Regions from separate parts of the Homo sapiens genome. Here all the other regions are linked to region 1. Evidence: promoter capture Hi-C in 16 types of primary human blood cells and fetal thymus (Javierre and others, 2016). All regions are on one chromosome and are shown on one strand. The core of a region is centred on a gene start or on the middle of the fragment in contact, and the rest is flanking DNA. Distances in the headings are between cores, read along the strand shown.

The links. The method cuts DNA at HindIII sites, captures the fragments that hold promoters and counts their contacts. A CHiCAGO score of 5 or more calls a contact.
Region 2: a fragment that was not itself captured here is called in contact with the fragment with the promoter of HMGA2-AS2 in region 1 in 2 of 17 cell types (non-activated CD4 T cells and total CD4 T cells); the score reaches 5.4 in non-activated CD4 T cells.
Region 3: a contact is called between a fragment that was not itself captured here and the fragment with the promoter of HMGA2-AS2 in region 1, in 8 of 17 cell types (total CD4 T cells, non-activated CD4 T cells, naive CD8 T cells and 5 more). The highest score is 11.3, in total CD4 T cells.
Region 4: a contact is called between a fragment that was not itself captured here and the fragment with the promoter of HMGA2-AS2 in region 1, in 7 of 17 cell types (activated CD4 T cells, total CD4 T cells, total B cells and 4 more). The highest score is 14.3, in activated CD4 T cells.
Region 5: a contact is called between a fragment that was not itself captured here and the fragment with the promoter of HMGA2-AS2 in region 1, in 1 of 17 cell types (naive CD8 T cells). The highest score is 5.7, in naive CD8 T cells.

The regions. Positions count from the first base shown.
Region 1 is chr12:65,947,152-65,952,805 of GRCh38, forward strand. It overlaps HMGA2-AS2 (HMGA2 antisense RNA 2), which reads right to left and starts at 1,556. Exons shown (of 4, transcript NR_199060.1): 1 at 1,284-1,556; 2 at 613-973. HMGA2 (high mobility group AT-hook 2) reads left to right here. Exons shown (of 5, transcript NM_003483.6): 4 at 4,232-4,264. The HindIII fragment of the contact is 7,270 bases long and covers 1,304-5,654 here.
Region 2 is chr12:64,915,393-64,921,101 of GRCh38, forward strand. All of the region lies in intron 2 of LINC02389 (long intergenic non-protein coding RNA 2389), which reads left to right. It overlaps LINC02231 (long intergenic non-protein coding RNA 2231), which reads right to left. Exons shown (of 4, transcript NR_146276.1): 4 at 5,453-5,678. Among named protein-coding and RNA genes, the nearest start is that of LINC02389, 34 kb to the left of the region's middle. The HindIII fragment of the contact is 720 bases long and covers 3,976-4,695 here.
Region 3 is chr12:64,878,329-64,884,396 of GRCh38, forward strand. TBC1D30 (TBC1 domain family member 30) reads left to right here. Exons shown (of 12, transcript NM_015279.2): 12 at 1-2,705. It overlaps LINC02389 (long intergenic non-protein coding RNA 2389), which reads left to right and starts at 5,446. Exons shown (of 3, transcript NR_033988.1): 1 at 5,446-5,537. The HindIII fragment of the contact is 2,171 bases long and covers 1,599-3,769 here.
Region 4 is chr12:64,895,982-64,902,126 of GRCh38, forward strand. LINC02389 (long intergenic non-protein coding RNA 2389) reads left to right here. Exons shown (of 3, transcript NR_033988.1): 2 at 4,596-4,717. Among named protein-coding and RNA genes, the nearest start is that of LINC02389, 15 kb to the left of the region's middle. The HindIII fragment of the contact is 7,998 bases long and covers 1-6,145 here.
Region 5 is chr12:64,816,870-64,822,195 of GRCh38, forward strand. It overlaps a transcript of TBC1D30 not described here. Among named protein-coding and RNA genes, the nearest start is that of TBC1D30, 5.1 kb to the right of the region's middle. The HindIII fragment of the contact is 418 bases long and covers 3,752-4,169 here.

The DNA of each region.
Region 1 (5,654 bases), core at 306-2,805:
CTCCGTCACCCAGGCGGGAGTGCAATGGTGTGATCATAGCTTACTGCAGCCATAACCTCCTAGGCTCAAGCAATCCTCCCACCTCAGTCTCCCGAGTAGCTGGGAGTACAGGCATGCGCCACTATACCTGGCTAATTATTTTTAATAGAGATGAAGTCTTGCTAGGTTGCCCAAGCTGGTCTCGAACTCGTGAGCTCAAACAATCCTCTCAAAGTGCTGAGATTACCGGCATGAGCCACCACACCCGGCCACAGTTTCGTTTTAACATCTGTTAATCCAAAAAATTTCTTCAAAGTCCTTTGGTGATTTTGTCAATGCTGCTATTGATGTTTTGTTCTGGGAGGAAGCTCTCTTTCACCCCATTGTATTTTAGAAGTTTCAATGCAACCATGGAATGAGGATTTTCATTACAAGCTTTTTGAAAGGTGCAATAGTCTCAACATAATGAACTCAAAATCTCAGTGCATTGAAGGGTTTGCATGCCAAGTTGACCAAGTGCCTAAACTGTATAAACTCCCTATGTGCACACTTAGAATTGGATCATCAGATTTGTCTAAACAACTTGAAAGGCTTTGCTATCTGTTCACTGAACAGTCATTATGATGTACACACCTTTAAGAGGGACTCAGCCCCTCCACAACTGATAATGAAGGAAGAATCTCCAAGTGAGGTGAGGCAGCTGGACTTTGCAGGTCTGACTCTTGTCCCCTGCGATTCACTTTTCATCAGCAACCTGGAGGAATCAGAACTAGGCCCTGCTGAACAATCTGGAGATGAAAATCAAAGCCGGGAAGTACAGCTTCTCCTGGATTGGATCTCGATTTGACTTTTTTCTTTTTTCTTTTTTTCAAGGAACAGACTGGGTTTCTTCAGAGCATTATATCAGGGATTAAGAGAATCAGTAGACTCGGGTTGTTTTGGTTTTAGAAAAAGATCTCAGACGATTATTTAAATTCCCTATGCCTTGGTTTCCCTGTGAGAAAATGAAAACAGTAAGGCCTGGACCCTCCCAGTAACAAAGGGGCAGATGTTAAAAATATAAAGGATTCTAGCTTTCATATAGGAAATGCATGTGCAAAATATTACTCATTTATTAAGGTGCATGAAAATTTACTGTTAACAACACAGAAGACTAATATGTATCATTGATGTTATTCAGGTCTTATAAAACTCTAGTGGCCAGTCGTGTTTTTAATGCCAAGAACCCCGAGGAGCAACTGGTTTCTAAGAATCAACACTTAGTTCTGAGCCGAGAGATGCCCCAAGGAAGATAAGAGACTTACAGTTTGTTTGGCGTCCAAAAAGCTTTCCAGACAGCAGTTTGTTTCCTTTCCCTTTTTATGAATGGTGGTAGTATTATGCTTCAGTCTGCGTTTTCTACCAAAGCCATTCATAAAAATAAAAACAAAACAAAATAACAACAACAAAAACTTTCTCGGCACAGTCTGGAGCCATTGGGTGCCAGAGGCTGGGAAAACATCCTGGCAGCCATAACCCCAACCAACATTGAAAGTATTCAAGGGTCTGTTTGTTTGGTGGTCTGAAAAGTATGAAGTGCTGTGTCTGAGGGTAGCTGGTAGAAGTTCCGTGACACGGACTAGGCCGGGAGCCAGGGCTGGCAGAGATTCAGACATTGTCTTTCCCCTCATTGAAGTGTCAGGACCTAATTCATGGAAAATTGGGTGAGCTGGCAGCTCTTTCAGAGGATTTCATTGAGCTGCAGTGTGCAGGAGTCACATGAATGCGGGAGCCTCTGCCAAAAAAGGAGGGGGATTTCTGAGCAGTAGGAACCAGTCAGCCTGCAAGAATGTATGTGGATTTGAAACGGTTTGGGAGTAAACATGTGTACAGGTGTAATCAACAGGGAAAAATGGGAGGAAGATGAGTGCTCTCTTCTTCCAAATGACCCTTTGGAAATGAATCCTCTATTAGCCCACGCTTTTGTGTCCTAAGAGGCAAGAAGTCCTCATCGTTCTTGGTTCGATTTTCCCTGGAGAAAACATCATCTCAAAACTTGGGCTTTTGTGATGACGTCATCTTTACTGTGATTTAAAGTCAAATGGAAGAACGTCTTTTCCTTTGAGCAAAAGTACCTTGCCATTTATTTTATTTTTATTCTGTCCATCTAAAAAAAAAAAGCTCTAATGATTTTTATATGGAATTTTTAATGTACCAGCAATAAACCACTGTACCACTGAGAGGAACTCTGAGAGGAAGGGGCTCTCAGAATGAATGAACAGGGGCTAGTGAATAGTGAACGTATCCTAAGTGCTGTTATTTGGGAGAACTGGTGCAAGAAAGCATGTCGCTATCCACATCAGAGTACCTCAGGTGTACTCACAAATCTCAGCGATGTGTAGATAGAATAATACATGCCTATATTCAGACATGAGAGTGAGGACTGGAAGCAAATAATCCATCGAAAAGCTCAGGCTTCAAATCCATCTTTTATAATGCCAAAGAAATAAGAAGTATTCTCTAATACTCGATTGGAAAGTTAGGCAGGCAGAAAAACATTCCCTCGGATGTTTCACTCAAAAGAGGAGAGTTTTGCTCTACACATACAATAGATACAGATATAACACAATATAACACAATATTCTTCCCATGATACCACGAAGAAACTGAACAAACTCACAGAATTATTTGCAAATCATAAGGGACTTGAATGCAAAACATTAAAAGAACTCTTACAACTTTGTTATGAAGAGATAGCAAATTTTTTTTAAATGGGCAAAGGATTTAAATAAACATTTCTTCCCAGGAGACATATAAATGGCCAATAAGCACATGAAAAGATGCTCAACATCATTAGTTGTGAGAGAAGTTCAAATTGAAACAGCAATGATGTTTAACTTCACATCCACTTGGATGTCTACAAGCAAAAAGACAGGCAATAACAAGCATTGGCATGTATACGGAGCAATTGGAACTCCAGATTCATTGCTGGTGGGACGGACTGCAAAATGGTACAGCTGCTTTAGAAAGCTGTCTGGCAGCTCCTCAAAAAGTGAAACAAAGAATTACAATATGAACCAGCGATTCCACTCCCAGGTACATACCCAAGAATGAAAACATGTTCGCACGAAAACGTGTATATAAATGTTCATAGTAGCATTATTCATAATAGCCAAAGGGTGGAAACACCCCAGATGTCCACCAACTAATGAATGGATAGGTAAAATGTGGTATACCCATACAAGGGAAAATTATTTAGCATGAAAAGGAATGAACTGCTGATGCTACCACATGGATGACCCTAGAAAACCCTAGGCCAGTGAAAGAAGCCACACACAAAAGACTCTACATATATAGTATGATTCCACTTACATGAAATGTCAGGATAGGTAAATTCATAGAGACAGAAAGTAGATTCATGGTCACTTAGGCATGGGAGGTGGCTAGGGACGTGGAGGGTAGTGGGGAGTAACCACTAATGGGTACAAGATTTCTTTTAGAGGAGATGAAAGTGTTCTAAATTAGACTGTGGTGATGGTTGCACAACCCTCTGAATATACTAAAATATACTTTAAATGAGTGAATTATGTGGTATGTAAATTATGTCTCAGTGAAGGTGTTTTAAAAAAATAAAATATTAACAAATTAGGTACCTTCACTCCTCAGTTTTGTGATATATAGGCTAAAAACAAAGTGAATCAAACAGTTAAGTTTCTTTCAAGCTAGTTGGCTTGTATGCCAGAATTTAATTGGGAATTGGAATTGTTTTCACTGAGATAACCTATGTTGTATTTCCTTAATATAGAGAGATCATGAATAGACATTTTTGTTTTTTTTGAGATAGGGTGTTGCTCTGTCACCCAGGCTGGAGTGCAGTGGCATGATCACGGCTCACTGCAGCCTTGACCTTTCTTGGCCCAGGTGATCCTTCCATTTAGGCCTCTGAGTAGCTGGGACTACAGTTGCAACGCCACCACACCCTGTTAATTTTTGTATGTTTGTAGAGAGAGGGTTTCACCATGTTGCCCAGCCTGGTCTACAACTCCTGGGCTCAAGCCATCCGTCCGCCTCTGCCTCCCAAAGCGCTGGGATTATAAGCGTGAGCCACCATGCCTGGCCAAGTATAAACACTTTTAACATTGGATATACCAGTTGAACTTTATACTTTCCTCTTTCCTTTGCAGACAAGTATCTGTATTTAAAATATGTACACCTAATTTTTTCTATAATGTATATTTTCTTTTAAAATATATCTTTTTCTTTTCCTCCTTAGCCACAACAAGTTGTTCAGAAGAAGCCTGCTCAGGTAAGACATAGTCATTAATTTTTTTCTCCCAATTAATATAAAAAGTGAAATATGTACTGAAAAATGTCCCCAAACTAAACCTTATTTCGCATTTTCTTACTTTTGGTTATCGTCCTGCAGTATTCCTGAAAATGTGTTGTAGCCTTCAAAGTTAGGAATATATAGTCTGCAATCGTACCATGAAAACCTCCCAAAATGTAAGGTCTTAAGTGTACAAAGCAAATATAAATTCTTTTAAAAATAAAACTATTTTATTACATTGCCTCATATGTAAAACAAATATTTAATCTTATCCTATATTTTACCAATTCTTAAACATCAAATTTTGTCCTTCCAACTGACTGTCTATATTCTGTTGACACCAGACTTATATTTAATGATTCATGACTGGAAACATATTTCTTCATTGAACAATTTCATAATATTTGATGATCCCAAAACACTCCAAAGAATGCTAGAATACTTGGAAATTAAGTTATACTAACGTGCAGACTGATGCATTCTTAGATCTTATTTAAATAACTGAATCACAGTCTCTGAAGTTTTTGGCAACATCAAATTGGAAAATAGCTCTACGTCTCTTGCCCCATATTCCTGGAGCACCTTGTCCTCACTATAATCTGTACATAGAAACATTAAAAAAACATATTTATTGAGGAAGCATATCTTGAAGAAAACAAAACTGAAGTATAAATTAACCAGGATTGCTAATAATGTGAGCCAGTATTAAAGTATAAGAACGTCCTGCTGTTCTCTTCCCTTCTGTATGTAAATAGTCATTGGAGATCCAGGTGGTATCATGCTGAACCTGCTAAAATAAGTAGTAAGCAGTGTCATGAGCTATCAAATTAAGTAGAACTCTTTCATGTAATTTTAAGTATCCATGAAATTTTTTTCCCTAGAAGTCTTTACAAATCTACCTTGCATCCTGTTTTCTTAGGTCAATGTTGCCTTGCCTGGGAAGGACCACCCGGGCAATCTTATATATCTACTGTTCTCTAAAAATGCCACTTAGAAGAGAATTGAAACTTCCAAACACATGAAAGGATCCAAGGAAAGTGTCTTCAAACAATTACATATGAGCTTTAAGTGGAATAAAAACAGAGTTACCATGAAAAAAATCATTTTCATTGCTGCTCCCATACCTAAAAGCTAAGAGTGGGAGAGGGGTGCTAAAAAAAACCCAGTGTTTGTGCGTCTTTAAGCAATATTTAAAAATATATACATATAAACAAAAACTTGACATTTTCATTAGGAGAACCCAAATATATTTAGCCTCTCATCCTTTAACTGTACAAAAATCAAGAGAAAGTAAATTGATAATTCTGTGCATTTGAGTCAAAGGATGAGGCAGAGTTCACATTTGCATCACAGGCTGTGAACTATAGAT
Region 2 (5,709 bases), core at 3,086-5,585, 1.0 Mb before region 1:
GCCAGGTGAAGGAGGAGGGAAAGGGAGTGCCATGTAGATTGAGGAGCATGCGCAATGGATAACATGAGACCTGAAGAACATTTCAAAGGGAATCAGCCATAGGATCTGCTTGGGTGGCCTGCCGGGGATGATGGCAAAGGTGCATCCTGTGAAAGCCGAGCCCTTCTGACTGCACTTCTGCCTTGCAGGTAAAGGCCCATGAAGATTACTTGTGGCATTTCCTCAACAAAGCCTTAACCCTTGGTATCAAGAGCTTTACTTTTCTCATTTTCCCATTCAATTGCTATACTTCTGCTTCCTGCTGTCTTGGCAGTACACAAGGAAATGGAAACAATATGAATAGGTTCTTGTGAGATCTCATCTCTAAGTTAATGATAACCAGGACTTTGGGTTGTGGGTTTATCCCAGGTGGAGCTCCTCTATCATTCTCTTTTCTGATGACTTGAAGTTGAGTAGATCTAGGTTCCTATCTCAGTTCTACCATTTCCAGGTGTCTGACATTAGGCAAAATATTTAAGTCCTTTGAATATCAGTTTCCTTATCAATAAAATGAAGATAGGATAGTACCCATCTTACAGAGTTGTGATGATGTGAGCTAATGCTGGGTGCAGCAAAAGTATTCAGCAAAGTGGCTTTTGTCCTAGTCTGTATTGAGAATTTAAAATCCCACTCACTGAATAGAGAGATGGTGGCTATAGAATTTTGTGCCTATGTGGGGAAAAAATGGTTGAGAATTGAGTAAATGTGAGAGGGGATGAAGACAATCCTCTGGGAGACACTAGGTTTCACCCTCTCTTTTTATCGCTAAAATAAGAAAATAATAAAGGAAGTTGCCAGACCTGAGTGTCTTCCACTGCAAAATAAGGGTTGGATTAAGTGATGTTTTAAGACTATTTAAATCTTGTAGCACTTCATTCATTCTGGGTGTTGGAGTAATTGCTAATCAAGGGTTATCAGTTATAAAGGTACAGGACTTCTAAATTATGGTTATGTATTAGAGCCCCTAGGAAGCTTTGAAAAAATCCTGATGTGTGGGTTCCACTCCAGACATATAAAGTCAGAATCACTAGTGAGTGGTCACTGGACAAGGTGGGGCAGCCAGAGTTGAGGGTTACACTAGTGGCTAGAGTAGGAGTTTTGTCTTTGATTTCAGCTTACAGCATCATTTATAATGGTAAGTCACCAAAGTTGGAGAATTAAATGTCAACAGTTAATATTACAGCTCTTTTTGTTTGTTTAAAAACTTGTTTTTCTCCTTTAGTGAATAATTAAGCTTTTTAGAGATGTATATAATTGCTGGCCTTTGAATTTCCTCTACCAAAATATTCATAGCTTAAAGATGTATGTTGCCAATTATATTTTTAATTAGAATGGAAATGTGTTTAAAGCTCTTGCACAGAAATGTGTACTAAATCTGTTTTAGAGAAACTTACTTGTAAGGCTTTTTTTTTCTTTTTAGCCAATTCCAACTCAGGCTTTGGCCTCTATTCAAGAGAAGCCACTACAATGAAATATTTTCTGACACTGTGTGTAAATAGCTGTCCTGGATGTGTGTGTTCTTATTTATGTCAGAGTTCCTAAAAACTGCCACAAATAAAACCTGTTTTTTTTTTTTCAATGAAAAACATTCAAAATGGAAGAGGGAGGCATGTCATGTTGACCCAAAAATAGCATGAGCATAATGAGCCCAACATGGGAGAGGCTTTGAAGGCTCAAATCTTAATGGGAAATACTTGTGGATTTTACTTCACTATAATTGTAGGACAAAACATAATCGTATTTTAGCATGACAAATTCTTAATGTGTACTTATTGAACTTCAGTGTGTGGTCTGTTAAAAAGAATTTCATAGGAGACATTTCATAAATCTTATGTGCATATATATATATAATTTTTAGAGAGATAATAGCTATACAACTTGTTTAGTAGCTTGCTTTTTTCACTTATTAACCCGTTTATGCCTGAGGTTGCAAATTTTTGAATTTTTGCAATCAGACCTTGGTGATGAACTTGAGCAGTAGGATATAAATAACTCCCACATGCTTAGCATTCCAATAGTGGAAGACGAGGCATAAATGGCTACCATAAGATAGACATTCATCCTTATCCAAACCTGTAATCTCTGTCATCATTTTAATGACTGCATAATAGTTCTCATTATGGATATAGCAGAATTTATTTAACCAATCATTTATTTCTAGACATTTAGGTTGTTTCAAACTTCTCCTGTACTAAACAATGCTGCAATGAATATCCTTGTTCATATCTGTTCTTGTCTTTGTACAATAATTTTTAAGGATGAATTCATATAAGTGGAATTACTGGGTCAAGTAATGGTCATAATTTCAAGGATTTTGATACATATTACCAAATTATATTAAAAGCTGTATCAATTTACACTCCTACTGGAATAGTTATTTCTTTTTAACTTTTTAATTTTTAATTTTTATGGCTGCATAGTGGAACAGTTATTTCTTGTTCAGAAAATTCTTTTCAGCAATACAGGGTTGTCATCTGCAGAGTAATTTGAAATCCAAAGTAAAAATCTCCCCGTATAACTCAGCAAATAACTTCCAAATGCCCCAAGCTCATTCTGCAAGGTAAAATGCTAGAGGAAGCTAAACACATATTCAAGCAACAAGAGTGGAGGCCAGGGGGATGAAGAGGAGAAAGAGGTTGTTGACAATGAACTTAGAAGAAATCAGTACTTTTTACTTGCTCTTATCTTACCCAACCTCTGGAAAAAAATGAGCATCCTCCTTAAATTCCCAGTGGAATTTTAAGTGGGATTTCTAGTTTTCTCTTGTTTTTTGACATTTAGTTGGTCGAAAAGAAGGGAAAACTAGAAATTCTACTTAAAATTCCACCGGGTCTTATATTTGAGATTGGCAGCACTGAGGCATTCCAGATGGCTTTGTCCATTCTTTTGAACCTACCTTTTGATCTTATTTAAATTTCCTCCCCATTTCACCTGTTGTGGGTTTATTGCCTGGAAAACAAGCAGGTGAACATATTAGCTCCTTCTTAAGGCACCTCTAGACTACAGGAAATTTATGTTCAGGCCAGGAATCATATAACATGACTACATGCTCCACATTTATGGGCAAGTTAAGCAACAGGGAATTTTATACTGGGATTTATGACGCAAACTTGTAGCAGGCACATTGTGAGGTGGGAGGGAAATTTAAAGAAGGAAAAACTCTGCCAATAAGAGAGATTCAAATTCTTCAATTGATGGAAAAAACATGTGAGGATTTTATTCTGGAAGTTGCCTGTGAATTCACACAAGAGACAGGAAAACATAAATATTACAGCCGATCACTCCTCTTTCCCACATATATTAGTTTTCTTTCAGATGAAGTCATTTCTGTTTTCTGGTCAATCAGTGTACAGACCAGAATTATCTAAGAACATTTAACTAGATGCTTTAGCAACATTTATCCCCATTAATTCCAGGATAGAGGGAAGAAGAAAAGAGAAGCATGTGTTGAGTTGAGAGGGCAAGGCTTCTACATTCCCTAAAAAACTGACCTACACCTTGTGTATCCATCCTTATAGCCCATAAAAGCCAGCACAGAGGAGAGCACCAGCTGGAATCATTCAGTGAAGGCAATGGCTTTCAAAGACAGAGCTAGCGGCAGGTGGAATATAGATTAGGAGTCCTTTTATACTTCAAATAGTACTTGTTTTCAGTGTGAAGCAATGTGGTTCTCATATAGTCAATAAAGAGCAAATTCAGGGTATTTGCCCTTTGGCTAGTGAGGCTGATGACTTGTGGTAACTCCAGCATCACACCATCACCCGGGGAGTGCAGAGAACATTGGACTAAAATGCTGGAGGGTCTGGGTCCTGGCTTGGCAGAGCTGATTCTTCAGACTCATGCTGAGATCCATGGGCACACAGCGTAATGGCCAGGACAATTCTGAATGATTCTTGGGCTGCTGGTACAGTGGGTGCTTGGAAAATGGTTTCTCCAAGCTTGATTGGCTTTTCTCTGATCCTTATCATTTGGTCAGTGTCTTAGTCTGTTCAGGCTGCTATAACAACGTATCATAAACTGGGTGGTTTATAAACTTGTTTCCCACAGTTCTGGAGGCTGGGGAGTGGAAGATCAAGGTGCTGGCAGATTCATTGTCTAGTGAGGACTTACTTTCTGGTTCATACAAGGTAGTTTTTGCTGTGTGCTCACACGGTGGAAGGGGTGAGGGGTCTCTCTGGGGCGTCTTTTATAAGGGCATGAGTCACAGTCACCTCCCCAAATCCTCACCTCCTAATTACTGTCGACTTGGGGGTCAGGGTTTCAATATGTGAATTTTGAGGGGGCACATTCAGACCAGAGGAGTCAGCTATACTACATTGGGTGGACAGGCTATGTGTGATCCAGGGGAGTTTGAGTAAATGATCTCAGTTAGGAGTTACAGTTACTTGCCTAGAAGTTATAGTTATTCCCATTCTAAATGTAGATAGGTTTGGTGGGGGGAACGATAAAAGAGAAGGGTCTTGGGATTCTAGGAATGACCAACAAGAGTCCACTGCTGGGAAAGATCGGATCATATGCTCCCTGAGGGGAGGCTTTGCTGATTTTGTTCTTCACTCTTCTCCCAGTGGCACATAGTAGGAGCTTAATAAATATATCATGTTGCCCAAGACTAACAGGAATGGTGGGAAGTGACACCACTAGTTGTGACAATAGCAAAGCTTTAACGTTCTCCAAAGAGACTAGCTTACGGGTTTAGGAATATGCAAAATGGCCCCAATATTAATTTCTACTTTTCTTCCGCACATGCACTATGGGCTGGAATGGGCCAGGGGTTTGCTTGTTTAAGATTACTTGACACATTATTGCTGAGGAATACAAATTCAGAGCCCGGGCTTTGTTTCATACTCCTTGTTAAATACAAAATAAGGAGTCGGATCCTAACTGAAGAGGAAACGCATGTCATAGAGCAGTGGTTATCAGAAATGATCGTGTGTCAGTCTGAGTGTGAAACACAGATGGCTAGGCCCCAACCCCAGAGTTTCTGACCCAGTGGGTTTGGGGTAGGGCTGAGAAGGTGCAGTTCTAATAAGTTCCCAGGTGATGCTGATACAGCTCCTTTAAGACCAAACTTTGAGAGCCAATGGAAAAGAGGAAAACGCACTCATATTGGAATGAGACGAAGCTGGACTCCTATCTTAATTGCTATGTGATTTTGGTCAGGTCAACTTTGCTTAGCTTCAGCTTTCTCATCTGCAAAATGGTGATGATATCTACCTCATGAGGCTATTGTGCGGGTTAAATGAAGTAAAGTGAGTAACGGTGGCTGGTCCATGGTAGTCACTCACTCCAGTGATGTAAGATCTTCTTCCCTTACTCCTTTTGTGGGATACTCATACAATGCAAGGCTTGTTTAAGGATTAACATCTGTGTGAACTGAGCTTCTGCTGTATTAATTTCACATTGCCACTTATATATGTCCTGAGGTTTTTGCTTTTATTGAACATTTACTATGTGAATGGCATTGTGTGAAATAACTTTTACATTTTATATAACATTAGATATTATTCCTTTTTAACAGATGAGGATAGTAACTTGCATATGAGCCTACAGCTAGTAAGTGGCAGAGCTGAGTATTCAAACCAAGGTCCACTCCACACCAACACTCTTGACTTCTTTGTTATAATGGTTCCCATGATTCTCTGTGAACAGAAAATGTCAGATTATTATGTT
Region 3 (6,068 bases), core at 1,434-3,933, 1.1 Mb before region 1:
ACTTGCTATCTTCCCTATGTATTGGACACTGTATGCAAACACCAGAAGTACTTAACAAGTAGTGGTTTCTTGATTTTTAGATATGTCTGTAGCCTCTTAGCCCTTTTGCCGGGAATCAACTCATTCTGATGCCTCTGCACCTCAGTTCCTCTTACAAAAGCCTCCAGATGATCTAAATCTAGTTAGCAATGTCAGCCTGTGGACTGCAGCTGTTTGGGACATTGTATTCCTTTGTTTGTCTCTTGTTGTTCTGAAGGATTGTATTGATCACAAAGCTATATGCATAAAGATTCTCATTGTTGTAACTGTTCTGCCATTTTCTGAGTGCAAGCATGGAACACTGTTGTGACAGTCCCTTCTCCCTTCTTCCTTCTTCCTTCACCCCCAACCCCAGACCCCCCTTGGTCACATGAACCAGGGAAACAGCCCAATAAGCTCTATCTCCCCCAGTCTAATCGCTGGGTTGCAGGGTGGCCTGTGACCTGCCCAGCATTTGCAGACTCGCTGGTTCCTGAATATGAGTAAGCACAGAGTTTACCTAGAGAGTTTACCTAAAATTAACCTTTAGATCTACTATTTATTTTTGTCTTAATAAAATGAACAATAAATATAGTTTAGCTGCATGGCATTAAGGATTCTGTATGAATAGATGTATAGTTGCTGCCATCTCCCCATATAAAAACTCTCTTTACATCGTTTCTGAGCCACTTTCTTTGCTGTCTGCAGCATTTAAAATATATTATTTTTCCTAATTAGAAAAGTCACAGGTTTTAGAAAATTGGGAAAACAAAAAGAGCATAAAGAATCATCAATACTCTGATATAGATATAGATCTTTCCAGTACGTTTGTGTATGTGTGTACACGCCATTATCTACAAAAAAGTTATGTTGAACATGGTAGTTTAAGCTGTCTTTCTGGTAAATGCTCTTATACAATATGATTTTTAGTGACTAATATTCCCTAATGTGTTCATGCCAGAATTCACATAACCAGTACCTTGTCAAATAGGAGGTTTCTGATTAGATAGTAGTAGAGACAGTATCCTGTTACATGTATGTACATAGCCCGAATTATTTTCTTAGGATATGCGTATAGAAGTGGAGTTGAAGGGTCAGGAAATATGTCCATTTTTAAGATACATATATCTCCAAATTGCCATTCTTAAAGGTTGGAGTTATACAAGTAGTGAATGAGAATGCCTGCTTCTCTACATCCTGGAAGAGGCAGCAGTCTCTTTCCTTTTTTTTCCTTTCTATGACTTCTAGTGTGGAAGTGCCAACAGAAGTGTTTTAGAAGCAGTGATAATGAACACTCATAACACCCATACCTCATTCCTGACTTTTAAAAGAAGCATTAAGTAAGATGTTGAGGTTTCTGGTAGGTGCCTATTATTAGGTTAAGAAAATTCCCTTTTATTCTTTGCTTGCTAAGAGTTTTCTTCATCAACAGGTATTGAATTTCATAAAAAGAACTTTAATTGTATCTTTTGAGAAGGGAATAGTACTTGAGACTTGGTATCCTGAACTCAAAGAAATAGCCATTACTAGGTTTTGTCAAAGAATACCAGATATTTTAGAGTTGGAAGTTATGCAGTAAAAGCTTTATGTGCAAATGTTCATTGAAGTATTAAATGTACTAATGGAAACCTGAAAACAATATAAACATCTGGGAATAGGGGAGATGTTTGGATGAATTATGATTCATCCCCAGGATGGAAATGTGAAGGCCGGTGAGTATTTGGACCATTGAAGTGGGAGTTATCTGTTATCCACATCAGGCAGCTCAGAGTAAAGTCAGCAAGTCTACAGTCATAGAGCCACCAGGATACAGTGATGGATGGGAGGCCTTTGCTGGACAGTGGCTGAAGGCAGAACTGTTGGAGTGGTTCTTCCACAAAGGCAGCCAGTGCTCACCTGAATGGGGACTGGTACTGTAGGTATTGGGTCAGCTTTCATGCCGTTCCCTGCTGGCCATCTCCCAATGCTGAATGTCTGACTCAGTTCAGGCTGCTGTAACAAAGTACCATAGACTGAGGTGGCTTAAACACAGACATTTCTTTCTCACAGTTCTGGAGGCTGAGAAGTCAAAGATCAACGTGTCTGCAAATTTGGTATCTGGTGAGGAAGGGCCCTCTTCCTGGTTTGCAGATGGCTACCTTCTCACTGTGTCCTCACACAATGGAGAAAGGGAGTATGTTTTGGTCTCTTCCTCTTCTGATAAGGGCACTAACCTCATCATGAGGGTCCCATCCTCCTGGTGTCATCTAAACCTAATTACCTCCCAATGGCCCCGCCTTCAAATACCATCACGTTGAAGGTTGCTTCCTTCCTGGTCGTTTGCTCTGGTGAGACCAAATGACCTGCAAAGTGTCACTTGATTCCATTCTCTCCATCCCTTCCATCCCAGGCAATCTTTATCTAGCTACACCAACCTGTGCCCCAGGGGCTTCAAGAGTTGTTGTTGTTTTAACATTAAAAAACCAGAAAGTTCACTTGTTTCTTAGTGTTTACATCCTTGCTATAACAATTCTAGTTTTCCTTTAGGCAATGCTGATCACTGGGAAGGAGGTGGATCAATTCTCCTATGGGACCAACAGTTTTCTGGGAAGAAACTTCCTGATACCTCAGCCTAGGAATCTCCCTATCCCTGGAGAGTCCAGGAATCTATATTAAAACATGAAACAAAGCAAAAAATAAAAAAAAACCTCCTTAGTAATTGTTTTCTTTTTGAGACAGGGTCTCACTCTGTTGTCGAGGCTGGGGTGCAGTGGCACAATCTTGGCTCACTGCAGCCTCCGCCTCCCATGTTCAAGTGATTCTCCTGCCTCAGTCTCCCAAGTAGCTGGGACTACCAAGTGTGCACCACTATTCCCGGCTAATTTTTCTATTTTTAGTAGAGATGGGGTTTCATCATGTCCACCAGGCTGGTCTTGAACTCCTGGCCTCAAGCAATCCGCCCACCTTGGCCTCCCAAAGTGCTAGGATTACAGATGTGAGCCACTGTGCCTGGCCTTCCTTAGTAATTTGAACGTTGAACTAAGTTTAGCAACCACTGAACAAGTTAACTATAGCCATATATCACCTGATGACGGGGGTAACGATGGGGAAATTGTTAGGTAATTTCAACATTGTGCGAATATCACGGAGTGTGCTCACACAAACCTAGATGGTATAGCCTACTACACACCTGGGCTATATGGTGTAGCCTATTGCTCCTAGGCTACAAACCTGTATAGCAAGTTACTGTGCCGAACACTGCAGTCAGTTGTAACACAATGGTAATTGTGTATCTAAACATATTAGAAAAGGTACAGTAAAAATACAGTATTACAATCACACAGGACCACCATAGCACATGAGGTCCATCGTTGACTGAAACGTGGTGTGGCACATGACTGTATTGTAATGGTCTCCTAACTGGTCTCACTGCCATCCATTTTGGACCCTCCCCCTGCCCACCCCACCTCTCTGCTGCTTGGCTATACACTGCTGCCAGAATGATCTTTCTAAAATGAAAAACTAATTGGGCCATCCCTCTGGTCAAAATCTTTCTTCAATTTCTGGAGGGTAAAAGCTAAAATCCTTATCTTAGCATGATTTGACCCATGGTTAATTTTCCGTCTTATTTTCCCACAGCTTCCCCATTCATTACCTCGTGCAACCTATCCTCACCAGCACCATAATATCAACCATTGGTGGAGCTCCTTGAGCTCAGCACTATACTAGCTCCTTTGTGCTATCTCACTTATTCCTCCCAAGAGCTCTGTGAAGCTTACTGGCACTGTATTACAGATGATGAAGGTGAAGTGAGCAGTTACATCCTTGGCCAGTTGGAAGGAGGTGGATGAATTCCCCTATGTGATCAACAGTTTTCTGGGAGGAAACTTCCTGATACCTCAACCTAGGAATCTCTCTATCCCTGGAGAGTCCAGAAATCTATATTAAAATGTGAAACAAAGCAAAAAAACAAACAAACCTCCCTTAGTAATTTTTTTTTGTTTTTGAGACAGGGTCTTGCTCTGTCGCCCAGGCTGGAGTGCAGTAGCGCAATCTCAGCTCACTGCAACCTGCTCACTGCAACCTATTTAGCTGGCAAATAACATCTGGATCTATCTGACACCAGAGCCTGAGCTTTTCCTTTGCTACACTGTCTTATAACTTTGCCCATAACTCCAAGTTCCCTGAAGGCCCCCCACTCCGCTAATGCCCTCATACTGCTGTGTATTCATAAATCCTTGCTTCGAGCACCCTCCTTGCTTCAGTCTGCCTGGCAGATACCTACCTATCCTTTTGGTCTCATCGCACACATTAATGAGGTAAAATCCAATCTATGCCACTATATGATTTGGGGCAAGTTACTTAACATCTGAGACCTTCAATTTCCACATCTGTACAATGAGAATAATTTCAATCTCATAGGGTTTGTTGTGGACAATTGCCGTCTTTGCTGCCCAGAATTTACTATGCTTTGGCAACATTGCCTTAATTTTGCTTGGGGAGCCAGCCCTCCTCCACCTCTGCCCATGTACTTCCGGTGACAGTGATGGCCCTGGAGGGAGCACAGGGCCTGAGCTCAGACACTCAGCACTCTTCCTCCTCCTCACCATGGTGTCTGACCCATGGATGAGCCACAGGAAAAGAAGCTCAATTCCTAGGCTCTTGTTTTGAACTCTCACGTAAGCAGACTCACTCATTTCTACTGGATTTGGTCCTAAGTTGCTAAAGTTTGGGGAAAATTGGGTTACATATAGCTTATGTGATTAACTCCATAAATGAATATGCAACAGAATTTAACCTGGAAGGAAAAAGCCCAGGAGTTGTTGCTGGCAGCTCTCTTGTAACCATGAGGGGAGAGCTTGTTGGAGAAGAGTTAACACTCAGCAAGCAGAGCTGAGAAACAGAGAGAAAGCAGGCTGCTTTCAGGGCCTGTGAGCTCTGGATCAGGCCACGCCCAAAGCCAATTTGTCTCAGCTTATTTACTATATCAGCTAACATTCCAATTTTGGGGTTTAGCCAGTTTGGTCAGATTTTCTACCACTCATGTTGAAAAACTCTTAACTGAAACAGAGGTGTTGTGAAGATTACAGATTATAAGGGCAAAATGGTGGCTGTATCAGTGAACAGTAGTCAGGATTATTTTTTACTTTCCAGTGACTCAAACCTCTCCTAAACTGCTCTCTCAGTTTTGGCTCCGTCTTCCCATGATAATAATAGGTGGTGTAGAGAGGTGACAGAGTCAAGGAACATGGTTCTTGTTTTCTGAAGATGGTTCTTTCCTCAAGCCCTTTGAGTCTTCTTTGGTCTTATATTCTCATCACAGAAGGAGAGGTGATTGTCTTTCCCCAGTTTTGTCTACCATTCCGGTTCCATCTGCATTCCCGGAGGAGTCCTGTTGAGGGCAGAGTGACTGTGAGCAAAACAAGAAGAGCTGTGTCACCAAGTTCCATAAAATCTGGGAGCCCAAGCAGCATATTTGTGGGATTTGTCTGACAGAACGCAATGGAAACAGAGCGTGGCATTCGCTCCATCTCCCCCAGGTGAGCGGCAGCTTTCTCACGGGGGGTCGGGGGCGGGGGGGGGGGGGGGCTCTAGGGCATCTCTAATGGCGTCTGCGGGGAAGCAGCAGGGCTGGGTGAGAAAGTGGGTCTCACGGGACCTGCAGTGTTCAGCAGAGCCGTGGGAGTGCCTGCTGGGAGCATACTTGTTTGGGAACACATGAGAGGCACCCCCTGAAGATTTCAAGAAAACCGGATAGCATTAGGAGATATACCTAATATAAATGACGAGTTAATGGGTGCAGCACACCAACATGGCACATGTATACATATGTAACAAACCTGCACGTTGTGCACATGTACCCTAGAACTTAAAGTATAATAAAAAAAAATATATATATATACATATAAAAAGAAAACCTTGCCCAGTTAAGGGGATGGGAGGACTTTATAGGCCCTGTTTCAAAATATGTCTGTGAGAACGGTGTTGAGTCATTGTTGCTGCAGGGACCCTATCTGGACCAAGAAGTTGCTAAGGTCTGGGGAAGGTTGAGCTACATATAACGTATGTGA
Region 4 (6,145 bases), core at 1,876-4,375, 1.0 Mb before region 1:
TCCCAAATGTGTGCCTTTAGTCCAGAACTCCCTCTGAGTACCAGACACAAGAACATCCAAATATGAACTCCTGATCTTCCTTCCAAACCTGCCCCCCTCAGCTTTTTCATCTCAGTTGATGATAACTAAGCGTAGCAGTTTATTAGGTCAGAAAAGTGACAAGAGACTTGCAGAGACTTGTGTGGAGTTTGAGTTTTCTCTGAATAAGTTAAGAAGACAGAGTGTTTTGAGCAAGAAGTGGAATTATCTGGCATATTTTAAAGGGCTCATTCTGGTTGTTTTGCAGAGAGTAGACAGTGGAGGCACAAAGATATATCAGGAGAGACCAGTTAGGAGGCTGCTGCGACGACCCAGGTGTGAGATCATGATGACTTGGATCAGGGTAGTAGTAGTGGTAAGAAGTGGTCAGATTCTGGATGTGTTTTCAAGGTAGAGTTAATAGGATTTCTTGGCAGGATGCAGGATGTGAAAGAAAGAGAAGTCAGGGATTATTCCAAGACTTTTAGTTTGAGCAACTGGAAGAGTGGTGTTACCTTCAGCTGAGATGGGGAAGATTGCATAGGGAGTTTGGGATGTCCACTAGATATTGAAGCAAAATGTTTGAATGGGAATTTGAACATTTTAGTCCATTTGAAGTTCAAGAGAGAGGTCTGGACTGGATATGTAAAACTGGGAATCATTGGCATATAGATAGTATTTAAAACCTCAGACTGGAAGAGATCACTAAGGTCTAAGACACTTATAGTAAAGAGAATTTCCTATAGACCTAGAGCATTTGTTCTCAACCAGAGGTGCTTCCCTGGGGATATTTGACAATGTCTAGAAACATTTTTGGTTGTGGGGAGTGGTTGCTACTGGTACCTAGTGGACAGAGAGCAGGGATGCTACTATATATATATCTATCCTATAATGCCTAGCACAGCCCCCAACAACAAAGAATTATCTGGCCAAAAAGTCAGTAGTGTCAAAGTTGAGAAACCCTTGTGTAGATGGAGAAGACCAAGGACAGAGCCTGGGACACTGCAATATTTAAGAGGTAGAGAGGAAGAGGAGGAACCAGCAAAGGAGACAGAAGAGTAATCAGGCAAATACGAGGAAACTAAAAGTTGTGGATCCTGGAAGGCAAGTGAAGAAAGTTTATCAACAAGGAGGTGTGTCAAATGCTGCTGATTAGGGGCATGGCATCAGGTGCCTGTAGTCCCAGCTACTGGGGAGGCTGAGGCAGGAGGATCACTTGAGCCCCAGAGTTCAAGGCCAACCTGGGCACCATAGTGAGATGATGTCTCCAGAAAAAAAAATGCTGCTAAGTCAAATTGGTTGATAACTGAGAATTATTCATTGTATTTATCATCATGCGTGTCATTTATGACCTTGAGAAAAACAGTTTCAGTGTATGTGTTGGGTGGACTTAAGACAGAATGGAAGGAAAGGGAGATTGCAGACAACTAGTACTTAAAAGTTTTGGGAGAGGTTTTTTTGCAAAGGAAAACAAAGAAATGGGGCAATGGCTGGTAAGTATCAGAGAATTGGGCGTGAGTTTAGAGTGCTGACTGTCAGACCACATCAAGGGCCTTAGAACCAAGGACAAGGCAGATCCAGGTTGAAATGATTCTGGACACAGGTCTAGAATGAGAAAAAGGTCTAGAAATTAATTATTTTTGTTGGGTGATGGCTTCATGAGTCAGAGGCAGGTCTGATGGCTGGGGCCAACTGGACCAGACAGTTCTAAGACACACTATTCTTTATATTCTATCCTTTTCAGTCCAAATAAAGGACTGGAGCTGGCATATGAATTCTTCACAATAACTCAGTACAAGATTCCTTGCTGTCTCTGACTTCTAGGGGTAGGCTTATTTTTATTTTATGTGGCTCCAAGGGTGCAGGTAAGTTTCAGGGCCCTCTCTGTCTGGACTATTGCATCAGTCACTTACCTGACTCCAGCTTGCTGCCTTTCACTCCCTTCTTTATTTCCAGAGTGATCTTTCTAAATGCAAATCTGAGTCTATCATTCCCTGTCTAAAAACTGTGTATGGCTTCCCATCCTAATCAAGATAAAATTCAGGCTCCCTTGTGTGGCATACAATGTTATCTCAGACTTAGTTTTCCCCATGTTTTCCAGGCTTGTGTCCAGCTTCTCTGTGCCTTGCAGCAGATATTGGACTTCTCCACATCCATGGTTCCATGTACTTACCGTGCAGAGTCACACCTCCAAACCTGTGCTTAACTCGTTTACTCTTCTATAACACCCTATCTACTTTTCTGTGCTTGGTTAACTCCTGCTCATTGTTCAAGACTAATTTCCTTTAGGAAGCTGTATACATTAGAATTCAATTTGGTTACAAGTGACAAAAAGTAACAGTGGCTCTGTTGCTGCCCTGGAGTAAACATGAGAAAGAAAAGGATATTCTGGGGTCCATGGAGAGGAACATCAGATGCTTCCACAGTCTGTTCTTGGAACCACTATTATTCAACTGGGACTGGCAAATCCCAGTTGAATCTTAGATTTCAAGACTATGATGTTGCTGCCTGGTATGTGCCTTCAGCTCTAGGGAGTTAAAGTCATGTATTTTGCTTTGTTTTGTCTCATATTTTGCCCGAGACTTGTTTTAGATTAACTTGTCACTTCATTAATTCATTCAATGACTGATTCACATGTGGGTTTGCTGTAACTTACTATATAAAAAGTCTGTTTCTTCTGGTTTAATCATCAGGGTTTCTGGAGGTGTGGAATAGCAGACTAATTATCGCTCTGTAACCTCTCATGTTTTTGAGGTGAATTACCTATAGTATGAATTCTTTGCTCATTTATCCTATTATTTGTTTAAAAAGAACTATTGGCCCTTGTCACTTACCAGACACAGTGCTTGGTGCTCAGGATGCAGAATGAGAGACATTCCTTGTCCTGAAGGAGCTGCAGTCTAGTGTCAGGGTAGACAAGGAAAGCAAGAGTAGAGTGTAATAAGTTCTTAGGTCAAGGTATACCTGAAGTGTTATAAGAGTCCAGAAGAGGGGCATGTGATTGAGACTTGGAGTCAGGGAAAAACCTCAAGAGAAAGTAGTGCCTGGAGGTTGCAGTGAGCAGAGATCATGCCACTGCACTCCAGCCTGGGAGACAGAGTGAGACTCCATGTCAAAATAACCAACTAACTAACTAACTAGCTAACTAACTAACTAAATAAAGTAATGCCTGAACTGAGTGATGAGAGACCTAGGAGTCAACAGGAAGCTAACATGGGCTGAACCAGCTTGATAAAATAAAACTCTCCACAGTTTCATCAACCCTAACCCACACCATTTCAAATAAATATTCAAAGTAAAAAAAAAGTGCTTGGTAGGCAACTTTATCACAAGTTCCCTAATCTCCGTCAACCCACCCCAGTGTTACCCCAAATAAATATATAATACAAGTTCCTCAGTTTCAACTAGATCCCCACCTGGATTCCTATCCCTCCTCTAGAGACTTCTGGAATGTCACTGCCCTATTTTCTTCACCCCACTCCATCCCTCAGACTCACCCCTGTCCCTGATACCTACAAATCAGCATCATCCTTGGGCTCATCTAAAGAAAGTAATGAGAGGTGGATGGAGTTAAAGGACAAGGCAAAGTTCAGGGGCGAGATGAGGCTTTAGGATGAAAAAGGACCAGGAATTGGGTGGGGATAACTGCTGCACATATCCTGTAGTATTGTGTGGCATTAAGAGTCTGCCTTATACCTTAGAAGAACTCTTTCTCCATCTCTGGTGGTAGGGTATAGGATAAAGTGGAGAGAGTCTTACTAGTTAAAGTGGAGAGAGTCTTACTAGTGCATCTTGCCAAGGGCTTTTTTTAAAAAACAGGTTCTAGCTCCGTCAACCCGGGCTGGAGTGCAGTGATGTGATCATAGCTCACTGCAATCTTGAACTCCTGGGCTCAAACAATCCTCCTGCTTCAGCCTCTCAAGTTGCTGGGACTACAGGCACATGCCACCATGCCTGGCTAATATTTTGATTTTTGTAGAGATGAGGTCTCACTGTGTTGCCCAGGCTGGTCTCAAACTCCTGAGCTCAAACAATCCTCTTGCCTCGGCCTCCCAAAATGTTGGGATTACAGGTGTGAGCCACTGCACTAGGCCCATTTTAACCATTTTTAAGTGCACAGTCCTCTGATGTTGAGTCATTTGCATTGTTGTGCTTTCCTGATACTTCTTGAGCTCTTTCTATCTGTAGACTTTGGTCCTCCCTTAATTCAAGATAATTCTCTTCTAGCATATCTTGATTTTTTTTTGGCCACTTTCATTATATGTGTCAGTGTGTGTGTGTGTTTTAACCAACATATCACATTCTGAGGAGAGTGCAGCAATGTGGGTTCTAGTGGTTTCTTCTTATTCTCCTGGGCCGCTTCAGAATTTAAGTGTTTGGTTTAATAAGGTTAAGGAGCTGTTTTTTTGTTTGTTTGTTTGTTTGTTTGTTTGTTTTTCTGGAGAGAGGTCAGCAAAATGCTCTGTGGATAAACCAAGAACTTAGTATGCAAAGGGCTTTTGGTAGCCTGTGCACACAACCCGAGCACACATGGTATGAGTGAGTGTCCACACACAAGCATGCCCTTGCTTTCCTAGGTCACCTGTGGAGAAAGAAACATCATCTCTCAACAGAGGATTGTTCCTCCGTTTGATGATACGTGCATCCTGCCATCTGGAATTCAATTGACTGTTCTGTCTTGGAGCCAAGAATCTAGAAAGTGAGTGGGAACATCAGATGTGAGTCAATATTTCACAATGTCACCAAAGAGAACATATCAACACTCAGTTGACAGGCAGCAGCCCCGTGCAGATGATGACAAAGGCTGGATACATGTCAGGGTGTGAGTGTGGAAGAGGGCAGGGGCTGGGGACTTTTATAAGAATGTTTCCGTGCCTAGCTCAGTGCTGGCCACATGTTTAGTTAAGCAGGACATTTCCTTACTGGGAGTCTGGTTGGAATTGATTTTCTATTAACTATTTATTTTGATCTTCTATTTTCTCCATTTTAATAGGTTGTTAGCAAAATCAGCTTAATGCTGGTCATATACATTGATTAACTGTTTCATTGATCATACAAACACAACCATTAAATGCTTGTGTGTTACAGAGAAAATTATTGTAACTATATTCATACTAGACAGATAGACAAACAATATGCTGGGAAGGAAGTTTTTTTTTCTTCTTTTTAATAAGAAGTAAATTTGATACTCAAGAGGTAGGGTGGTGGACTTAGAATGACCATCCCTACTTTGCTCATCCTTCAAGGTCTGACTGAAATATGACCTCTCTCCAAAGCCTTGCACAGTCTTCCCAGGCCCCGTCATGGTTCCTTCTGCGGCTTGTGTGTGTTCTCATAGCACTGCATATAGCTGCGTATTTACCCGAGGCAGGAAAGTGACCCTTATTTATCTTTTGCATGTAGTAGAAGCCCAGTACATTCTGACTAGTTTTTTTTTGTTTGTTTGTTGTTGTTGTTTGAGACAGGGTCTAGCTCATTGCAACCTGGAACTCCTGGCTCAAGAAATCCACCTACCTCAGTCTCCCTAAGGGCTGGGATTATAGGTGTGAGCCACCATGTTTGGCCCTTGATTCGGTTTTAATTTCAATTTTCAAAAAGTAAAAGGAAGGTTTATTGTTTTTGCTAATTTTACAAGTAACCAGGCTCACTGGATTAGGATCAGACAATAAAGTAGAACGTGCAGTCACCTTCAGCCTATCACTTAGAGACAACCATTATGAATATTTTGGGATATTTATCTCCAGATCTCTCTCTCTCATATGTGTATATATATTTATTTATATTCATAAACTTAGAGGTAGAGATTTTTCTTTTTTTTTCTTTCTTTTTTTTTTTTTTTTTTTGAGACGGAGTCTCGCTCTTTCACCAGGGTGGAGTGCAGCGGCATGATCTCTGCTCACTGCAACCTCTGCCTCCCGGGTTCAAGCAATTCTCCTGCCTTAGCCTCCCGACTAGCCGGGACTACAGGCGTGTGCCACCACACCCAGCTAATTTTTGTATTTTTAGTAGAGACGGGGTTTCACCATGTTGGCCAGGACAGTCTCGATCTCTTGACCTCATGATCTGCCCGCCTTGGCCTCCCAAAGTGCTGGGATTACGGGTATGAGCCACCGCCCCCAGCCCGAGG
Region 5 (5,326 bases), core at 2,711-5,210, 1.1 Mb before region 1:
AGGCTGGAGTACAGTAGTGTGATCAGGGCACAATGCAGCCTTGAAATCCTAGGCTCTCAAGTGATCCTCCTGCCTCAGTCCACCAAGTAGCTGGGACTACAGGTGTGAGCCACCATGCCCAACAGAGCATTCTGAAATTTTGCTGACATCTGCCTCACCACAGCTCCCACTTAGCAGTTCTAACTTAGTCCTTTGGAGCAAACACAAAACTAATTTCACAGTTTCTACCAAGTGAGTGAGGGCACTAGAGGAGTATGCGGCGAAGACCTCAGTGGGGTATCCTGGCCAGTCAGACTCACCCTGTGGGTCAGAGTCTGGGTCCTGTGCTGGATAGACCTCTGGGATGACTGCTCACAGCGCCATTTTAGCCTCTAGTGCAGCAACAACAAGCACTAATCAAAGGACAGTATTGAGCGCCTGCTTTATGCCATGACTTTCATTATGTCATTTAATTCTCACCGTAACTCAAATATCATTATTCTAAAGATGAGGAAACTGAAACCCAGACATTAAGTAACTTGCTCAAGGACATAGAGGAAGCAAGTACTGGCATCAGAATTCTAACCTTTGTCTGCTGCGTTGCCTCCTGGAGGGTCTCACCAGGGGTGATGACCTGACCTGTGTCTCTTCACACGTCTCCTCATTGGAGCACACGTTCTACATTGTTTCTTCTGAATGAACTCAACCTGGAGAGCGAAGGCTTCCAGACCTGCCAAACCAACATTATTGTTGATTCCAATCTCTCTCCTTTTCCGGTACTTCCCTCTTGTCATCACCAAAATCAAGCATATTACATTCGAACTCATCACCCTTCTCCTGTCTAGGGACACATTTCTAAGTTAAATCTACCTCAATAGATATGAGAAACCTCTCCTTTCATACCTCTCCTCAACAGGGTCAAAAGAATCTTTGGGCCTGGCACATGGCTCATGCCTGTAATCCCAGCACTTTGGGAGGCCAAGGCAGGCGCGTCATTTGAGGTCAAGAGTTCGAGACCAGCCTGGCTAACATGGTGAAACCCCATGTCTACTAAAAATACAAAAATTAGCCGGGCATGGTGGCATGCACCTGTAATCCCAGCTACTCAAGAGGGTGAGGCACAGAAATCACTTGAACCCAGGAAGTGGAGGTTGCAGTGAGCCGACATCCCTCCACTGTACTCCAGCCTGGGCAACAGAGTGAGACTCTACCAAAAAAAAAAAAAAAAAATCTTAGAATGGCTTGGTGTAAGGTTGGGGAATCTCAGCTAAATGGTTCATCATGACCAGGTTAAACAGTTATTTCATCTTCTGCAGTGATGAGTGTGAGTCTTCCAGTTCTATTCCTGATGTGGAACTAAAGAGCTGAATAGCACAACTGTAAGAAGAGCATACATGAGCTTTGTCCTTGGCCTGTTTTCAGGTGAAATTTAGTAGCTCAATGAAATGGAGCTCTGGGAAAACATTGCAACATATATAATACTTAAGATGTAGCAAGAATGGTATCTCTCCAATTATTCACATAGTATTTTAAAGGACCTTTCACACAATCCTTGTGTCCTTGTCACTACTCACTCAGTAAACTGTAAACTATTTTTTTTTTTTTAGACAGTCTCGTGCTGTTGCCAGGCTGGAATGCTGGAATGCAGTGGCGCAATCCTGGCTCACTCAACCTCTGCCTCCCTGGTTCAAGTGATTCTCCTGCCTCAGCCTCACAAGTAGCTGGGATTACACGCACGTGCCACCACGCCCAGCTAGTATTTGTGTTTTTAGTAGAGACGGGGTTTCACCATGTTGGCCAGGATGGTCTTGATCTCCTGACCTCGTGATCTGCCCGCCTCAGCCTCCCAAAGTGCTGGGATTACAGGCGTGAGCCACTGCACCTGGCCAACTGTAAACTCTTTGAGGGTAGCGTATGTACTGTGTTCATAATTTTCTCTCTCATAGTTCTTAGTACCGTGCCTTTCCCACAGCATCTGATTAATGATTTTTTTCATGAATAAGTGAATGAATAAAAGAAATATAAAGGTGTCTTTATATGGTCAATATCAATCTAGCTCAAGTAGTAGTGAGTCAGTTTCGGTCATTTTGAAGCAAGAAAATACTTAACAGGAAATACCACGACAAGAAGAATACGATGAGATCTAAAATCTTTGGTTAGTTATGCATCTAAGGTTACATGGATCTGGCAGCAGAGTTTTAAGTACATTTCTGTATGACATTCTGAGTGTGATTTGGTGTTGGAATTTTAAAGCCTCTCTGTTCCATGCTTGATAGAGTCCTTTCTCAAAAATTAACAAAATACAAAAGCTACACCTGATTGTCTTAAAGGATGCCTGTATTTAAATAGAGAAGTTATTTTTATGACTAAGAAAAGAAAATCATATAAATAGAAAATGTCCCATGTAGGTAATGTGATCTGTCAAATAATTGTAGTTTTTTTCTTCCCCCTCAATTTCCTCCTGCTGCCCTGCCCCTTCATCTCTGTCATGAGGGGGAAACTGTTACAATGCTCATAGTCTGTGGACTCTGTCTTGGATAATGAATTGAAGGAACTACTTTTTTTTTTTTTTTTTTTTTTTTTTTGAAATGGAGTCTCGCTCTGTCACCCAGGCTGCCAGTGCAGTGGCATGATCTCGGCTCACTGCAAGCTCCGCCTCCCAGGTTCAAGCGATTCTCCTGCCTCAGCCTCCCAAGTAGCTGGGATTACAGGTGTGCGCCACCACACCCAGCTAATTTTTGTATTTTTAGTAGAGATGGGGTTTCACCATGTTGGCCAGGCTGGTCAGTCTCCCGAAGTGCTGAGATTATAGGCATGAGCCACTGCACTCGGCCTTGAAGGAACTACTTGTTAAGTCCCTACTTTAGTAGGTCTGAGGAAAGTGTTAACTTCTTGTAGAAAAGGCCACAGATCTTGTCTGGTTAGCAGACGCCACTTCACTATTCAGGAGCTGTTTACACATGTTCAAAAATTGTGGGATGAGGAGAGAGGAGGAAGAGTGGCTTTTATGCCACCAGACCTCCATTCTTTTTATTATCACAGGTGCAAAATGTCCCCATCTCCTGCCGAATGGGAGACAGCACTAGATCTGGTGGTCTGATGAGATCTCTGATGCTCAGCTTGTGTGCATATCAGCACCTGCCAGGGAACTCCGCAGCTGTACAGATGAGTTCCAGGCCCACTTCCCCAGAGCAGGCTGGCTCCCTGTGGTCTCTCTCTCCTCATAGCAGGCTTCCAGGGCCTTTTCTCTTGGTAATTGTCAGTCCCTGAAGATAAGCACGTAGGCCCTTTTTATTTTAAGACTTTACTGTTAAACAAAAAAAATAGCAGCATTAGGAAATCACAGGTCTCAGACCCACTTCCCCTTCTGGAAGCCCCTTGGGACATAGTTTTTATTCCTTGTGTTGGGCTTTCTTTTCTTACTGACTTCTTCCCCCTTCTCCCATTAAAGGAAAAGTTCGCTCTCAAGGAAACCTCATTCCCAGCATGTAGGCCTGAAGATGCAGGGTATGCCGAATGGTCCATACTTTTTTTTGTTTCAGCCTGGGAGCTCACATCTGTGGGGGATGTCCTCAGGTTATTAGCTCTGTGACATTCGGGGCATTTCCTCAAAGCCTTCATTTTCTTTAGCAATCCAAATAACATTATCTCATCCAATGTGAAGTGTTCATTAAGCCTTCCTTCCCCTAAATTCAGCATAAGTCATAACCATTGTAGACTGTGGCAGTGTATAATTTGCCCAAATGTGAATTCACTATTATTTGATTGGTAAAGCTTGATTAGTAAAGAATAATGGTAAATTGGCCTGGCTCCTGAGATTCTCAGGCAAAGTCCATGCTGGCTTGAGTTCTCTGTAAGTTGACTTTAGATGACATCTTTCACGTTTGTAAAACAATATTCCAGACATGAAATAAAAAACTGTGAGTCACACAATCAACATAATACTAGGCTTGGGCCATCGCTGCTTTTAGAGTATTGTGTTTTAGTGCTCATGTAATTATCTGTTTGCTATAAAAGTTGGCAGTCCTGACTTTCCTCTCCAATGTAAACAAAATAATATTATCTAATTCCTTTGCTGTTTATTGCCATCATAGCAGAAACTCTTAAATTTTATTTTAAAAACAGAGTTAGATTTTCCTCGTAATAGATCTAAAAGAGGTGAAATTGAATGTTCCTTTTGCAAGCAAACAAGCTTCTGTCACTACTAGTAAAGAAAAGTATTACAAGTAAAGAAGAATCTAAAGAGAGGTCTTTTTATCAGTCATGACACATGGGTGAGTTGACAGCCTAGAGTCTAGATGTCAGCTTTGGCAGTCTGGAAATTTGGTGTCTTCAGGTTACTGACTGGTAAGTGAACTCAGGGGTATTGACTGCTATTAACTGGTCAGTATATTCTCTGTGCTGCAGCAGAGTCTATATGGGAAATCAAATGACAATCCAAAGTTTGCTTGGTGAGCATGACGTCAGAGCCAAAGGGAGTTGGATGGTCTGAGTGGCATATGTCACAGCCCCAGGGGCAGGACGTCCTCCTCTCCACTCCAGAGACAGTGTTGTAGAACAGAGCTGATTGCTTGTCCTCTTGGCTTGCCTAGTGATGGAAACCGAGCATGAATAGCCTCTCTTGTTAAAATAGAACACAAAACCCTCTAAGATTTGAGCATATGAGAGGTCTGGAAGACGAGACTGTGCATGCAGTTACCAACTTGTCCTGCTGGATTTTCCCTCTCCTGCCAGTTCCCTCTCTTTGACTTCGGGTGTTCATCACCATCTTCAGCCCCAGGGTATACTGTGCCCTCTAAAAAACTGGTCAAAGGGAAGCATCAGACCTCTTCCTATGGCTCTCAGTACAACTGAGATAGGCTGCAACAGCCAATGAGTGTCTTATTAAAATTAATACAAAGCTGAAGGATACAAACATGTACCAAAACTGTAAAAAGTTGATGGTTGATGGAGGATAAATTTCTGTACCGGAGCTCGCAGCAAAAGGTTGGGAAATTTAAGCCAAGCAATTAGTCATGACCAGCTTAAACAGTGACTTCATTTTCTAAAGTGATGCCTTTTCAAAGAGTACTGCCCTTTTGAAAGCATCTTTACCTCTGCCAGGCAGCTACAACTGAATAGCTTGCATGTCCTTTATTAGCCTGCTTTACTTTTGCAGATGGCTCATCTCATTTTTAATAGATTCTTTTACAGCTCATTCTTAGGGTTGCACCATTTCTGACATTGTCCTCAAATTCTGGGAAGCGTCATAGGAATGCCTTCTTTTTCTGGCTTGTTTAGGCTATCTTTATGAAGGCATTTAAAAATATTCAATATTTTTTCAATCAATAGCAGCCATTTTTTTTTC